2 separate regions of the Homo sapiens genome follow, and region 2 is linked to region 1. The links are contacts of gene promoters, found by promoter capture Hi-C in blood cells and fetal thymus (Javierre and others, 2016). All regions are on one chromosome and are shown on one strand. Each heading gives the region's core, a stretch centred on a gene start or on the middle of the fragment in contact. The rest is flanking DNA. Distances are from core to core; before and after follow the strand shown. Region 1 holds the start of HAPLN4 (hyaluronan and proteoglycan link protein 4). Region 2 overlaps MAU2 (MAU2 sister chromatid cohesion factor).

Region 1 (2,982 bases), core at 184-2,683:
TACCCGCTACCCCTCTCCGCACTTGGCCACTTCTGCTTTTCGCGGAGAAGACCACTTTTAGCGGCCCTGACTCACCCAGCACGTGCACGACCTTCTTCCGGCCACGCTGCGCCCCCGCAGGGGCTGTGAGCAGCAGGACGCCCCAGGCCGCGGCCCAGAGCGCGCCGGGACCGAGGGCCGCCCGAGCGCACACCTGGGGGGCGGGCACGGGGCGCTCAGTCCAGCCTCCCAGCCTTGGCTTTTCGGAGGCCTGGCTCCCTCCCGGGCCTGCCTTCCCCACAGCGAGGACCTCTCTCACGCCCATGTCCCCACCCTTTCCGGGGTCCTGGAGAACTCCCCCTCCTCCTCTTGGGACCTCACATCCTAGCTTCTGCAAGAACCCACGCCCCTAGACTCCCCCCCGCCCTCAGTCCTGCCCCAGATCCCGCCTCATTCCCCCCCACCCCAAAACCCGAGGCTCGCTGCCCCGCCCCCTTCTGGCCCTGGCCCGGGCCGGGGATAGGGGGGTGGGGAAGAGCTGGAGGAGCGGCGGCAGCAAGGTTATCCGTGCGCCAGGAGACTGCAGCAAACCGGGCCGGGGCGGGCAGGGAGGGGGGAGAGCTGGAGAGAAAGAGGGAGAGACGCGGGGAGAGAACAGGGACAGAGAGAAAGGCAGGGAGAGGCAGAGAAGAGAGTGCGCGACACAGAAAAAGGGGAAGGGAAGAGAGAGAGGCAGAGATGGAGAGGGAGAGACAGATGGAAAAGAAGAGACAGATGTAGAGGGAGAGACAGAGATGGAGAGGGAGAGACAGAGAGGCAGAGGGAGAGACAGAGGGGCAGAGGAAGATACAGAGATGGAGAGGGAAAGACAGAGATGGAAAGGGAGAGACAGAGAGGAAGAGACAGAGAAGCAGAGGGAGAGAGAGAGAGGCAGAGGAAGAGACAGAGATGGAGAGGGAGAGACACAGATGGAGAGGGAGAGACAGAGAGGCAGAGGGAGACAGAGAGGCAGAGGGAGAGACAGAGAGGCAGAGGGAGCGACAGAGAGGGAGAGGGAGAGACAGAAAGGGAGAGGGAGAGACAGGAGAGTGCCAGAGGCAGAGAGACTCAGAGAAGAGGAGGGAGAGATAGGGACAGGGAAAGACAGAAACGGAGAGGAGAGGAAAAAGGCAGAGAGGATGACAGAGATGGAGAGAGGCAGGGAGAAATGGAGAGGGAGAGAACCTAGAGTGCCAAAAAGAGAGATCAAAGAGGGTGAGAGACAGAGAAAAGGAAGAGACAGAAGAAACTCAGAGGGATATAGATTCAGAGGCAGAGAGATATAGAATCCAAGATTGGGGAGACGGGGCACACACCACCCGCGCCCGCAGCCCCACTTACCATCTTGCCCGCGCGGCCCCCGCCGAGCGGCCCCTACGCACCCGGACTGCGCTCCCCGCACACCCGGTTAAGACTGGGCAGGTCCCTGCAGGCGGCGCAATCCCGGCGTCTGCCTGCAAGGGGAGGAGGAAGGCGGGCGAGGCGGGGTGTATTAAAGGGGCCGCGGGGGCCCACGCTCCCCTGGAGCAGTGGCTGGAGCGCGGGCGGAGAAAGAAGCGCTCTGGACTTGGAGTGCAGAGCTAGTTCCCTCACCCTGCTAGCTGAACTTAGGCCAGGGAAGAACCTCTCTGAGCCTCAGTTTAACCATCTTTGAAATGGAGGAGGGGGCTGAGTCTTCTATCTTGGTTACTGTGCTTTGGCAGGGGACCTGGGGGATCTGGTGAAAGAGATCATTTGGCCTGCAGGCCACCTGTCCATTGGGTAGTCATAGTGGAGTCCTGGTCTCCAGCACCCCAAAGGCGCTCCCTGTGCAGGGTGGGGGCCTCACGATAGTCACACTCTGCTGTGGACTGGAGCCACAGGCCCCAATTCAAGTCTGCCCCTCACTGGCTGTGAGACCTTGGAGGAGACAGTTGGCCTCTCTGAGCCTGCTGCTGACTCTTTGGTGAAGATCCAGTAGCTAGACATACAGTAGATCTCCGGTAGGGGTTGGGAGGGGCAAGAAAAAGGGACATCTAGGCCGGGCGCGGTGGCTCACGTCTGTAATCCCAGCACTTTGTGAGGCCAAGATGGGAGGATCACCTGAGGTCAGGAGTGCGAGGCCAACCTGACCAACATGGAGAAACTCTGTCTCTACTAAAAATACAAAATTAGCCAGGTGTGGTGGCACATGCCTGTAATCCCAGCTACTCAGGGGGCTGAGGCAGGAGAATTGCTTGAACCCAGGAGGTGGAGGTTGTGGTGAGCCAAGATCGTGCCATTGCATATCAGCCGGGGCAACAAGAGTGAAAACTCCGTCTCAAAAAAAAAAAAAAAAAAGAAAAAGAAAAAGAAAGAAAGAAAAGGAAAAGGGACATCTGGTCAAGGTCCCTGACTTACTCCAGGCCCAAGTCGCCCCTAAACCTGGCCTTTCACCCAATTTCAAAAAATCAAACAATAGCAAACAGTGAGTCTTTCTCCTAACACCTTGGCTTCCTTCCAGGACTCAGTTTCCCCTAAAATGAGCCCAACCCGACCAGATAGGAGAGGCAGAGTTGTGGTTTCTGTGGTCCAACAGGCTGGGGCTCCATCTCTTAGCTCAGCCATGCCTTGGGGACTGAGCGGGGGAATGATCTCAGACCAGGACCTTCACCTCCTGCAGCCTTGGTTTCCCCATCTGGAATATGGAGTGAGATCCAGCATGTAGCAGTCAAGGTATACAGTAGGTGCTTAATAAATGTATCATGCTATTAGTTATGATTTATTGGTAGAGCAGGAACTTTTCTCTCTGGCCATGACCTTGGGCAGGTCTCTTGTCCATACTGAGCCTCGGTTTTCCCATCTGGAAGATGAGCCGTGCATACCAACCAGAGGCCGCCTTCTGCTATCCCAGCACCTCTCACTCCTGGCAACCACGATGGCAGTGATAGGTGGGCCCTCATGGGGGCCAAGAAGAGGATCCCTTGCCCCTGCACCCTGAAACAC
Region 2 (2,982 bases), core at 140-2,639, 92 kb after region 1:
GGGAATTTTCCAGGTCTTACCTGAACCCCACATCCAGGCTTACAGGGCTTTGAGTCCTCGGTCCAGACAGGGTCAGTCCAGCACTGCTGGTCGCCTGTGTAGCACAGGCTCCTGTCTGCCGTCTCCAGGCCCTTGCCATAGCAACAGGGATGGGCATTTATGGGCCCTGATGGCTCTTACTGAGCTCTTCCTGCCACATCCTGAGGATGCTAGGGCTGCAACTGGGGTGGCCCTGTGCAGTCACAAAGCAGGGAGTCCGGATTGGAGGATTCTTACATGCTGGTGCCCCCAGAGCCCCTGCGTGTCTGCGGGGGCCTCCCATGAGAGCCAACTCAATTGTGGAAGACAAACCGGAGGGGCTGCTGCCCTTCTCAGAACCTGAAACCTGGAACCCTATATGAATCTGCATTTCTGATCAGCCCCCATTGTGGGTCTAGGGCTAACGGCCATCAGTGCTTTTTCTCTGCTTGAACAGGTAGAAGCCCCCAAAGTTGTCCATTGGCCATGCCCCTGTGAGGGCATGAGCCAGAAGTGAGGGCAGTTTGTTTTTCAGTGATACTTCAGAGAGGGCCATTTGAGATGGGCTCTGAGGTAAGCATAGGAGTTCACCAGACGCAGAAGGAGGTCACAACCTGGGCTGGGTTCAGTAGGTGGGTTCCAGATTATCCCCACCCCAACCTGGGCTGGGTTCGGCAAGTGGGGTCCAGGCTCCTCACTCCCCCTTGCTGCTCTTGGTTGACAGGAGAGTAACAACATGGTGGTGCCTGCCATGCAGCTCGCCAGCAAGATCCCGGACATGTCGGTACAGCTGTGGTCGTCAGCACTGCTGAGAGGTGAGTGCAATGGCCACCCCTCTTCCCCAGCCCCAGCCTGGCCCTCCCCAGAGATCAAGGCTGCTGGGCATGTCCTGCTCAGCCTTAGCTCGGACTAGGCCTCCGTGGGCCGCAGCCCCAGTTCTAGCATGGGTAGGGGGTGCTCCTCAGGAGACCCTGGTTGAGGGCAGTGGGTGCATTTGTGGCATCCGCTTGACTCGGGGTCTGGTTCAGTCTCTATAGGACACAGAGGCTGCGACTTGGTATCTGGTAGACTTGGGCTGTTAGCCGTGGCGCTCTCAGCCTTGCTTCTTCCCGGAAAGGCAGACAGCAGCCATACCTATTGGGTAGGGCTGGCCAGCTAGCTCTGGGAGCAGGGCGGGCACTCAGCGGGTATCATTGCTGTTACCGCAGCTCCCCCATTTCCAGATTACGAAACTAAGGTCCGGAGACTCGCCTGGGGCCCTGGGGAGGTGACAGGAGACGGGGTGCTCCATGTGCAGTGGGCTGCCTGGGGCTGCTGCCTCAGGATGGGCATTGGGCGTCCTGCCCCAATGAGCGCCTGTTTGCCTGAGGGCTGGCCATGGGCTCCCTGGAGGGCTGGCGAGAAGCCTGGCATTGGGCTTTCACTGCCCAGCCAGCCCTGTTCTGCCCTATGAGGGCGGCTGGCGCATGGGCTTTGTGATCCCAAGACAGGGCTCAGGTCCAGTGACGTGCCAGGCACCCAGAGATCCACCAGTGCAGCTGGGACTTGACCTTAGGGCTCCATCTGCACCGAGTGGGAGGGCCTGGGCAGTGACAGGGCAAGGCGGGCCCCCATGCTCATGTCCCACTCTCAGACCTGAATAAAGCCTGTGGGAACGCCATGGATGCCCATGAAGCCGCCCAGATGCACCAGAACTTCTCGCAGCAGCTGCTCCAGGACCACATTGAGGCCTGCAGCCTCCCCGAACACAACCTCATCACGGTACGGGTGTGGGTGTTAGGGGACGGGATCAGGACTAGCGGGCTCCCCACCTGCAAGAGGAAGGGGCACCTTGGCTGTATTTCTCTTTTGTCCAACAAACCCTAACTCAGCCTCAGGTGATCCCTTGATGGGGGAGATGGCCATGGGCACCCCCACCCAAGCAAGGGACCCAGGTGTCTCCTCGGGGCCCATTGGACTGGGGCATGGAGAACAGAGTCCCGGCTGTGTGAGCAGCCCAAGGAAGGCAGCATTCCAACCTCTTCTTCCCTGGGAACGGTCCACAGTGCCTCACTCGCATGTCCTCTCCTCCCCACAGTGGACAGACGGTCCACCCCCCGTGCAGTTCCAAGCTCAGAATGGACCCAACACCAGCCTGGCCAGCCTCCTGTGAGGCCTTGATGGGGCCATCCAGCTCCGCAGGGCCTGCGCGTCTCCGGCTTCCACCCAGACGGCACTCAAGCCTGCCCCCGAGGCGTGCTTCCTTCCTGATTGTCTCTAGAGCTTCCAAGTCCTGGGAATGTGCGGGGCCAGTCCCTGCCCTCCCAGGAGGGGTGGTAGCCGTTCCCACCTCGCAGCAGGACCCCCAGTGCAGAGGCTCACAGGTGGCACACAGGCGCTGTCTCTCCAGAGCCATCCTTCAGAGTGGACCTCAGTGCCAGTCCTGCCTCAGCATCTGGGTCACGTCGGCCAGGAGTAGGGTGCAGGCCTCCAGCAGGTCCTAATCCTGTGTGCCAGGGCAGGCAGTGCCCCAGGGGCACCACGCCTGACTCTCCATCACCCAGGCCTTGATGCCGAGCGGGAGTAGAGTGTTTCCTCTGCTCAAGGCAATTTCCAGAGCCCGGATGCCAGTTTCTGGCCTGAATTTGGAGGGAAGAAGTAATGGCGCTAGTGTGGGACGAAGCACAGATCCCAGCACTTTTCCCAGCTTTCTCTCCAGCATCAGTCCCTGCAGCAGCTGGGGCCTCTGGTCAGGAACCCTCAGGGACCCAGGAACTCAGCTTCCAAACATCTGCACCTTGACCGGACTCGCCATCCCGCCGTGGGGGTGCAGGTGATTGTAAACACGGGTGTGCATGTGGATGCACACGGGTGTGCGGTGAAGATCTGTGGAGATGGAGCTGGGAGCTGAGGCTCCTGTTGCACCAGCCACCTTCCCCCATCTTGTGGCTGCTGAGGGGCAGGAAGCGGGGGAGTGGGCTCGTC

The links. Contacts are between HindIII fragments. The CHiCAGO score rates a contact against its expected background, and 5 or more counts as called.
Region 2: a contact is called between a fragment that was not itself captured here and the fragment with the promoter of HAPLN4 in region 1, in 3 of 17 cell types (M1 macrophages, M0 macrophages and erythroblasts). The highest score is 7.1, in M1 macrophages.

What each region holds. Positions count from the first base shown.
Region 1 is chr19:19,261,371-19,264,352 of GRCh38, forward strand. HAPLN4 (hyaluronan and proteoglycan link protein 4) reads right to left here and starts at 1,434. Exons shown (of 5, transcript NM_023002.3): 1 at 1,360-1,434; 2 at 76-193. The coding sequence starts at 1,362. The HindIII fragment of the contact is 10,345 bases long and covers 1-2,982 here.
Region 2 is chr19:19,353,613-19,356,594 of GRCh38, forward strand. It overlaps MAU2 (MAU2 sister chromatid cohesion factor), which reads left to right. Exons shown (of 19, transcript NM_015329.4): 17 at 743-833; 18 at 1,652-1,779; 19 at 2,096-2,982. The coding sequence ends at 2,170. Among named protein-coding and RNA genes, the nearest start is that of MAU2, 34 kb to the left of the region's middle. The HindIII fragment of the contact is 5,642 bases long and covers 1-2,982 here.